Regions from separate parts of the Homo sapiens genome. Here region 2 is linked to region 1. The links are contacts of gene promoters, found by promoter capture Hi-C in human tissues and cell types (Jung and others, 2019). All regions are on one chromosome and are shown on one strand. Each heading gives the region's core, a stretch centred on a gene start or on the middle of the fragment in contact. The rest is flanking DNA. Distances are from core to core; before and after follow the strand shown.

Region 1 (5,199 bases), core at 415-2,914:
GATAGAGTTCTGTCCTTGCCCCTGAGGTTTCTGATTTTTTCAGAACTGCACCTGCAGGGCCTGGATATTTCCCCCAGAGAGTCCAGAAAGGTCTTTGTGCTTTAGAAAGAACACAGGCTATAGTGGTTGGTATCATTTAGAGACCAACACTGATTTTAGGCATCTTGTAATATAATTTAAGGTGGTATCCTTAATATTGCAAATTCAATAGGCTTATATGCAAACTGTACCATGCTCATTTCTCTGAATAACTGAAAAGCAAGCAAATAAATGAAACAAAAAAACATTCCAATATAACAGTCTAATTGGGAAAGGGGGTTTCATTTGTGTAATGCCCATAATCAGCTTTAAAACATATCCATGGATTATCATTTGTTTATAGAGGAAAGTAAAATGGCCAGACTTAATGATAAGGTGATCAGTGGCTTAGTTTTGCTAGTTCCAGCATGGTTATCTTTAGACTGATATTTTGGCTGAACTATAGAACACAGAACTTGCCAACATTTTTTAAAGCGAAGGAGTGTTTGCATCTTTCAGTTTGATGTAGTGGCCTGAGGTTCCCCCAAGTCCCTTTGAACTGTTTGCTCTTGAACCACATTTGTTTCTTATGCATTTGGAGTAATTGATGCGCTCCGAAAGGAAGAAGGAATAAGAGGGAGCATGTGAGATTAGTCTTCAACAGAAAGAACAAATCTAGTTGAAACAAAAGGAGAAAAGTGAGATCATCCAGAGGCGACTGTCACTCTCAACACACACAAAAGGCTTCTTTGGGCACATTGCAGACCTTCCCCCAAGGTATTCTGCAGAATAGCCGCCAGGCACCAACAACAAAGATGTGACTCGGGCATGAGATGATGGATAAGAGGGAACAGAGTAACAGAGGTTGTGTTCTTGAGACCTGTGTCATCTTGAAAAACGCCCTGAATTCAGCATTGTTTATATTCCTCGGGAATATGTTAGTGCCTGTAGGTGATCCATGTAAGAAATTCTGCGCGGTATCTGCCTGGTCTCTTACAAACACTCTGAATCCTACGTCCTGAAAAAGGTACAGAAGGATGTCAATCCCGGCTTCCCCTCCCAGGGAATCGTGGAAAACATACTATATCAATGCCTTGATGTGTCACCTTGTTTCATCCTTACACTAGGTCTGTAAAGCAAGTATACAGTGTCCTTGGTTGCAGTTCAGTCATTCGGCGTATATTTATTAAGCACATATTGCCTGTGAAGCACTGTGCTTCTGGGATACTGCAGCGAATAACACAGGTGCGATCCCTTCTCCTTTGGGGTTTACTTTCTCAGAGAAAAAAAAAAAAGAAATAAGTAGATAAAATAATTGCCAGGGAAATTGGGGTTATCATGGAAAGGTACAAGGAGTTTGAGAGAAGGAAAAAGAGAAGGGGCAGCCCAGCTTTCCACCTCTGCCTCTCCCGGGCACCCCCAGGCTCCATTCTCTCCTCCCTATACTCCTGCCCAGACAGCACCCACCTCCCCTTCCGCCCCCTTTTCCCTCCTTCTTTCCCTCCTCTCTCCGCTCCCTCTCTGACCTGCCGCCCCTCCCTCCGCTCCCCTGCCCTTTTGCTCGACCAGGGCCCCCGGGAGCCCTCTACCCCCACCCCATGGCCCAACCGTCCGGGCACGAGCCCCGCCCGAGCTCACCGCCCCTGCTCCCCTCTCCGACCCTTTGAGCCGTGGCCGTTGCCAGATGTCCACAATGGGAAACGAGGCCAGTTACCCGGCGGAGATGTGCTCCCACTTTGACAATGATGAAATTAAAAGGCTGGGCAGGAGGTTTAAGAAGTTGGACTTGGACAAATCAGGGTCTCTGAGCGTGGAGGAGTTCATGTCCCTGCCGGAGCTGCGCCACAACCCGTTGGTGCGGCGAGTGATCGACGTCTTCGACACCGACGGTGATGGAGAAGTGGACTTCAAGGAATTCATCCTGGGGACCTCCCAGTTCAGCGTCAAGGGCGACGAGGAGCAGAAGTTGAGGTTTGCGTTCAGCATTTACGACATGGATAAAGATGGCTACATTTCCAACGGGGAGCTCTTCCAGGTGCTGAAGATGATGGTGGGCAACAACCTGACGGACTGGCAGCTCCAGCAGCTGGTCGACAAAACCATCATCATCCTGGACAAGGATGGCGATGGGAAGATATCCTTTGAGGAATTCAGTGCTGTGGTCAGAGACCTGGAGATCCACAAGAAGCTGGTCCTCATCGTATGAGCCTTTTTCTTACAAGCACCACCCAACAACTTCTGCTTTCTTCCCTATCTCTTTCAAGATTTGCTCAAGACGTCCAACTGTCTCTCTGACTTATCTGGAAGTATTTCTTTTTGTGAAGCCATATGTCCTAACAGGAGCTTCATCACCAACTCAGTGCTATTAATTCTCCTTCTCTGAATGACTCAGGGTACCCTATAGGGGGAAGAGCAAGTCAAATGAGCATAGTGGGGAAAGAAAAGGAAATGGCTTTTATAAACATCTTTTACTTTGTTTTGATTCAAAGACCAAACTAGAACTTTAAAAGTTCAAAAATAAGAAAGTATACATTTTTGCTGTTATTTCTCATCATTTTGTATATGGGAGGAAATTTATAATTTGCATGGGTGTTAGGTGAACTGTTTTCATTTGCTTGTGTTCAGATATCTTGCCAGATTGTTAACTTCCTATTGTAGCAACAGGGACAAATATATTTGTCTTTGCTGGGCATCTCGTAATCACTTTTCTTAGGGGACAGAATCCCATCTTTTCCTTCGGCAGATTGCAGCCCCATTCCCCACAATGCATCCAGAAATCGCTGTGCATGTTTGAGGGGTAGGAGTTCATTTGGCCTCCTCCTGACTTGTTGCTCCAGCTCCTGAACAGAAACTAGCTTCAGGGCTCTTATAGGAAATGCTAAGCCTGGACTAAGTGCCCAGCTCAGCCATCATCCTCATTAGCAGTGGGTTTCCAGGGTTGGCAGCCCACACCAGCATTAATTTCAATGAAGGGGACCTCCAGCTAAATAGGGCAAGCAAAGTGTTCTCCCAGAAAGTGCTCTCACCTCCGACACTGGTCCCTACCCCCAGGTGGAGACAATGAGACATTTAGTTAGTTGTCCTACGGAGGAGAGGCAGTAGAGTCAGGCTGCAGTGGAATCTCCCTAGGATGCCAAAGTGGCATTATGTCTGTTGCTCACAGATGCAGAGACTGACAATTGTGTCTCCACAGCAGAGGTGGATGCTAGCTACACCAGCTATGCTGATTTTGAAAATCAGATCTGAGGCCTAGAAGAGAAACTGAGAGCTCTCTCATTCCAGGAAGCCTTTTCCCTAGTGGAACATTCAGTGCAGAAGTCCTCACACACTAACAGATCTCCACCATTGGGTGAGCCGGAGCCTGTGGTTCCAGGGGAGATCCAGAATGCATGTGTCTCTTCCCACGCATTTATGTCATGTTGGTAGCTTTAGATCAGCCATGGTGAGAAAAGAACAAAAGCTTTTAGTTGTTTTTGTTTTGTTTTGGAGAATTTGTTTACCAGTAAATACATCACTGCCTGTACCCCAAATGTTACCAGCTCCCTGAGGTGTCCCACATACTATTGTGAGTTCTCAGAGCATGAACTGTCCTCAGAAGAGCAGGGCTAGGACTTGTCCCAGCATCTGTGCCTCCATACCAATCCTCTTTCTCACAGAGAACCACTTCCCATATAAGATGCTTAAGGCTCTCAAAACAGCAGAACAATGAAACATACTCTCCCTACACTTGCTTAGCCAAGAGATACCACTCAGGTAACTTTTTTCAGGACATGGAAGATCTGTTTCAAGGAGATTTACTGCTATTTTATTTGGAAGAAGCTGGCAACTGGTCTTGACCAAAATAGAAAAAAAAAAAAAAAGTCCACAAATTTAATCACTTGTAGGGAACCCATCTATCAAGGTACCCTACCATATACTTTTGTATTTAATAGATTACTTAGAAACCACAAAAATAGGAATCCTTACCCCTTCAATTCCTGTTCAACCCTAAAAACTGTGATAAACGCTCCCAACCCTGTGGTGATCAGGGTTATGTAATGTTCAAAGATTCAGACACACCTGGGTTTGGATTCAGTTGCAACTGGGTTGTTATCACACTCACTTCTTTTTAGCTGTGTGAGCATGAATAATTTACTTAGCCTCTCTGTGTCTTTCCACCTAATTAAAGAGGATCCACCCCAGGGTTATTTTGAGGATTCAAAAAGGCATGCAACACACCTGGAGCACAATTCCACTTTCATTCAACTAATTCCCTTCCCTTCCCCCTTCTTCCCCTTCTACAAGATCAATATGTAAAGGAGACATGAGGCTTACTGGTTGCTTTTGAACACTTACTTAGTTCTTAGCTACACCCACTCTAAAATTAACTGGACATTAGTGTACAGCCCATGTCCAAGCCCAGAGAGAAAACAATGGGAACAATTTCAAGGTCCTCACCACTCCTTCATTTGCAGAGGGGACAACAGACTTTCTGACCTGAGAACTGGAGAATTTTTAAAACAAAATCTCTCATTCCAGCCCAACCTATTTAACTTTTTGTGGAGGAATTTTACATGGAGGAAGTGAGCACATGTCATGCTAGCCAAGAGGACATTATTGTCATTAAAGAGAGGCATTATTTATACACCCTGCAATGTGCACATTAAAATATGGAAATTTTAAAATTATGACCAAGGGCTTGAAACATATTGGATTACATGCTCACATTTAACAAAGAGAGGAAATGTGTTTCAGTTTCTGGAGTGGCTGGAATTTACAAGCTAATTGTTCAATAAATCTACTCAAGATAGTTACCTAAGGCTTTGTGGCAATGACCTTGAACTGAGAGCCTGTATCTGGATTTAGCACTTGAAAGATCTAACTGGATATTTGGGTTAAAAGAATCACATTTATTCCCAAATCGGAATGCTTTGTTTTTCCTGTCAGTTAATTGCCAGTTGCCAACAAATCTAGTTCTATACAGTTTCTTGGGATGATGATAATAAACATTTATTGAGCAATTGTCCCATAACTTTTGATATAACCTTTGTTATACATATCATTTAATCATCATAACAACACTGTGAGTCTGGTGCCATTATTTCAGCATTACAGATGATGCCATGTAGAGATCTAGCATCTTCTCCAAAGTCGCCCAGCTGGTAAGTGGCAAAGCATGGATTTGAACCAGGCTTTCTGACC
Region 2 (5,308 bases), core at 2,390-4,889, 450 kb before region 1:
AAAGTAAGGAAATAACAAAGCGGTGAAGCTGGTTAAAAAAAAAAAAAAACCAAGTACTAAAATTTATATATCTTTCTCAATGGAGCAATACTCAAGCCCTCACTCAGCACTTATTTGATGGCATCATTTCACATCATTCTAATAAGTATGGTGAGCTAGTTTTCCTAACAAACCTTGGAGGCAATGAGGCATAGTGGAAAGAGCAAAGTCTTCAGATTCATGTATTAGTTTGTGAATGTCTCGAGAAAGGAAATCTAGTATATGCCATATATCTTGCACTGTATATTCTCAACATTGTTAATATACGCTGAATAATATCTGTATGACATGCAACAAGGAACTCTGCATTTGCCATGTCACCCCCATGAGCCTTTCTCAGTTGCAAAATGATGAAAACACAATCCAACAGAGGTACACAACATGTACAACATGCAACATGGAACATTGCATTTGTCATGTCATCCCTGTGAGCCTTTCTCACTAAATGAGATTTAAAATCATCCAGCACAATGCTTAGCACATGGTACATGTCTTGTAGCTGCTAGTTCTTAACTCATAGTACATTAGCAGTAGAAAATTGGGAGGCTAGGGAAAAAGGGCCGCTGGCATTGAGAACATGAAGAGTAGTGGCTGCTGAGAAACAAGTAGTGAGAAATACAGAAGAAAAGATTACTAAAATTTAAGTACAGGAGTCCACACAATTTTAGAAAAACCTATAGCCAACATCATACTAAACCTAAAAGATTGATTTTTTTTCCTCTCAGTTCAGGGAAAATATATGAAGGTCCACCCTGAAAACTGATTTTCTATGTTTCATAGCAGCTTCTAGCCATTACAGAAAGACAAGGAAATGAAACTAAAAGCAGCCATATTGGAAAGGAAGAATACTGGCTTAAAAGGCAGATGACATAATCATCTTCATGGAGCTCTGATGGAATCATCAGCAAAGCTGTTGAGTTTAGCAAGGTTGCAAGATACAAAATCAATATACTAAAATCAATTACATCTCTATATACTCGGAACAAACGGTCATACATTGAAATTAATCAAGAGTAAATACTCTAAATAGTGTAAAAATATGAAATACTTGGGGTTAAATATGACAAATATGTAAAACTACTGTACATTAAAAACTATGAAACATTGCTGAGAAAAATTAAAAGATACCCAAAAAATAGATAATTTTTTTCATGGCTCAGAAGACTCAATATTGTTAAGATGTCAAGTCTCTAAAAATTGCATTTATAAAGTTAGTACAATTCCAATCAAAATTCAGCCAGTTATTTTGGGGAAACTCAAAAGCTGATTCTAAAATTCACATGGAAATGCAAAGAAATAGAACAATGAAAAAAACACAGAAATGGTAGAAATAAAGAAGCATGACACTGGCTGATTCTAGATCTTACTATAAATCAACAGCAATCAAAATAATGTAGTAGTATTATCAAGATAAAAAATGGGTCAAACTGAATAAAGTCCAGAAATATACTTACACATACACAGCTTTTATTTAACACAGACACAAGGGCAACTGAGTGGAGAAGTACAGATTTTTCTTTCAATAAATTATGCTGAAACAATTCAATATTCATATCTAAAATTAAATAAACAAAAAGAACTTCAAACTACACCTTACATCAAATATAAAAATTAACTCAAAATGGATTATGAACTTAAATATAAAATGTATAAAACCTCTAGAAGAAAATAAATGAGTTAATCTGTGTCTTGGTTAAAGCAAAGATTTTCTTAGATATGACAAGAAATATTCAGTTCATTAAAAGAAAAGAAATAATAAGTTGGAGTTCATCAAAATGGAAACTTCTGTTTGAAAGACAGAGTTAAAGGAATAAAAAGACAAACCATAGACTGGAAAAATATATTTGGAAATCATGTACTTGATAAGGTACTTGTATATACAACATATAAAGGACTCTCAAAACTCAAATAATAGAAAACGAATCATACAGTTAAAAAAAATGGCAATATATTTAGGCAGACACTTCACCAAAGGAAATACAAAGACAGCAAGCAAATAAGCATATTTGAAGATGCTAAAATTAAAATGATTGGCCATGGCGAAAATGTTTTTGAGGGTGTGGAGAAACTCACACTGGCATATGCTTCTAGTTGGAATAAAAAATGGTACAATTGTTTTTGAAAGACTGTCGGGGAGTTTCCTAAGAAGTTAAACATAGATCTACCTTATTCTCCCACCACTCCACTTCTAAGTATTTTCCCAAGAGAAATAAAAGTGTACGTTCATTAAAGCACACAAATATACAAAGCAGCTCTATTTGTAATAGTCCCAAACTGTAAACAATTTTAGTTTTTGTCAAAATGTAAGTAAATGTAACAATGGTGATCTACCCATTCAATGGAATACAACTCATCAGTAAATATTAAAAATGAACTGTTAATATAGGCCAGTATGATGAATTTCAGAACAGTTAAACTGAGTGAAAGAAGCCAGACAAAAAGAAGCCAGACCTCCCGCCAAAAAAAATTATACAATATGTTTCCTTTCATTTAAAATTCTAGGAAATTAAAAAGAACTTATAGCAATAGAAAGTAACATCAGTGGTTTCCTGTGGGTGGGTTTAAATGGCAGGATGCAGCAGAAGTGAAGATTATAAGGGGGTAAAGGGAAACTTTTGGTACGATGATATGTACATTTTCCTGATAGTTATGATACTTTTCTAGTAGTATTAATTTGTCAAAACTTATCAAATTGTACATGTTAAATGAACATGACTATTTTGTCAATTATACTTTAGTATAGCTGTTAGAGAGAGAAGGAGTAGGAAGATTAGGAGTTAACAAGGAGGAAAAAGTAAGGTTGCAATTTTAGACAGCTTTTTAAGAGCAGGCCCCACTGGGAAGGTGAGATTTGAAAAAGCCTTTAAAAGGGAAAGGAAGTTAGCTACACTACAGAGGCAACAGCCAGGCAAAGGCCCTAGGGAAAGTGTATGGTTGGCAATGAGGCCAATGTGCCTGAAGCACAGTGAGAAAGGTCTAGCGTACTAGGAGTTAAAGTAAGAGAGGCCACAAATCACCTCTATGCATTTTAAAACTTTGGTCTCTTACTAGAAGTAAGACATATAGCTATTGAAGTTGTTATGCAGAGGATGACACTATCTAGTTAGATTTTTTTTTTAAATTTCTCTGGCTGTTGCATTACGAATAATCTTTACGGGGACAAAAGTGAAAGTAGAGAGGCCAATCAGGAGGCTATTACAAAAATTCAGAGAAGGAATGATAGTAGCTTGAGACAGGATGGCAACATTGGAGCAGGTAGGAACTAATTAGATTCTGCCTGTGTTTTGAAGGTAAAGCCAACTGTTTTTTCAAACGGATTGAAAATGGAATATGAAACAAAGAGAGGAATTTTCTTGAGTTGGTTTTCACTCCCATTCTCTTCCTGGTAATTTATCTATCAAAGCTTTCAATTTTGTTCAACTTCCTGTCAATGTAATCCAAAAAAGACTAACCAGTTCAGTGTAGAAGAAGCCTCTTAATTGCACATTCTCTGTGGATTTGGGCTAAATTTATTTGGCACTGTATTACCACTCAGTTGACTTCAATTGAAATTGCAGAAAAAAGCATTATGTCTGCTAACTGTCTGCTTCTTCAAAAATGTTTTTCTATTTCTTTCATCAATGTTTTGTAGCTTTCATTGTCAAGAGTTTTTACCTCCTTGCTTAAATTTATTCCTAGGTCCTTTATTATTTTTTGCAGCTATTGTCAATGGAATTGCTTTCTTAAATTTAGAGCTAATTTGTTATTGGTGTACAGAAGTGCTACTGGTTTTTGGATGTTGATTTTTTATCTTTCATCTTTACCAAACTATTTTATCACTTCTAATAGGTTTTTGGTATAGTCTTTAGGTTTTTCAATAGATAAGATTGTGTTGTCTGCAAACAGGGACAATTTGACTTCCTCCTTTCCAATTCTGATTCACTATCCATCTATCTTTCTTTCTTTCTTCCTTTCTTTCTTTTTCTTTCTTTCTTCTTTTTCTTTCTTTCTCTCTCCCCTCCATTCCTTCCTTCCTCCCTCCCTCCCTCCCTTTCTCTCTCTCTCTTCCCTTAATTTCTCTGGCTAGAACTTCCACTACTATATTGAATAACCATAGTAAAAGTGAGCATCTTTCCCTTGTTCTAGTCCTTAGAGGAAAAGCTTTCAATGTTTTCTCATTCAATATGATGGTAGCTGTGGGTTTATCACATATGGCCCTTGCTGTGTTGAGGAACATTCTTTCTAGATCTGATTTGTTCAGTTTTCATCATGAAGGCATGCTGAATTTTGTCAAATGTTTTTTTTCTGCGTTTACTGAGATGATTACAGGGCTTTTGTTTCTCATTCTGTTAATGTGATTTGTCACATTTATTGATGTGTGTATGTTGAAATATTCTTGCCTTCCTATTCCTAGGATAAATCTCACTTGATCATGGTATACAATCTTTTTGATGTGCTGTTGGATTTTGTTTGCTAGTATTTTGTTAAGGATTTATACAGCTATGCAAAACTGCGTCAGAGCTAATGACCTACAGTTTTCTTTTTTTGTGGGTCTTTGTCTGATTTCAGTATCAGGGTGATGTTGGCTTCTTTCTAAAGCGAATTGAATATAATATAGAATTGGTTTGTATAAATTACTACCTTTTCAATTTTTTTGAATAGTTTGAGAAGAATATGTGTTAGTTCTCCTTTAAAAGGTTGTGAAATAGAGCTTTGATGTGATCCTGTGTAAGGCTGTTCTTCTTGGGAGATTTTATACTACTAATTCAATCTCATTGCTTCTGATTATTCTGTTCAGCTTTTCTGTTTCTTCTTGATTCGATCTTGGTAGGTTATATGGGTTGAGGAATTTATTCATTTCCTCTAAGTTTTCTAATTTGTTGGCAGATACTTGACCAAAATAGCCTCTAATGATACTTTGTATTTCTGTAGTATCAGTTGTAATGTCTCCTTTATTATTTCTGTTTTTGTAAATTTGGGTCTTCTCTCCTTTTCTTTTCTTAAAAACGGGAAGACATCCATGTTCATGGATTGTGTATTAGTCCATTCTCACACCACTATAAAGAATACCACCTAAGACTGGGTAATTATAAAGGAAAGCAGGTTAATTAATTCACAATTCTGCAGGCTTAACAGGAAGCATAGCTAGGAAGCCTCAGGAAACTTACAATCATGGCAGAAGCAAAAGGGAAAATAGGCACCTTTTTCACAAGGTGGCAGGAGGGAATGTGTGTGAGAAAGAGGAAGTGCCACACTTTAAAACCATCGGCTCTCTTGAGAACTAACTCAC

What was found. Contacts are between HindIII fragments. The study calls those that stand out against the background at their distance.
Region 2: a contact is called between a fragment that was not itself captured here and the fragment with the promoter of PPP3R2 in region 1, in 1 of the 25 tissues and cell types used here (mesendoderm cells).

Annotation. Positions count from the first base shown.
Region 1 is chr9:101,591,434-101,596,632 of GRCh38, reverse strand. PPP3R2 (protein phosphatase 3 regulatory subunit B, beta) reads left to right here and starts at 1,664. Exons shown (of 1, transcript NM_147180.4): 1 at 1,664-5,029. The coding sequence starts at 1,712. The coding sequence ends at 2,224. The region is part of intron 6 of GRIN3A (glutamate ionotropic receptor NMDA type subunit 3A); the gene reads left to right. LOC105376186 (a long non-coding RNA gene) reads right to left here and starts at 1,659. Exons shown (of 3, transcript XR_001746863.2): 1 at 1,545-1,659; 2 at 1,125-1,290; 3 at 818-1,036. The HindIII fragment of the contact is 7,456 bases long and covers 1-5,199 here.
Region 2 is chr9:102,047,718-102,053,025 of GRCh38, reverse strand. No RefSeq gene overlaps it. Among named protein-coding and RNA genes, the nearest start is that of GRIN3A, 310 kb to the right of the region's middle. The HindIII fragment of the contact is 5,660 bases long and covers 810-5,308 here.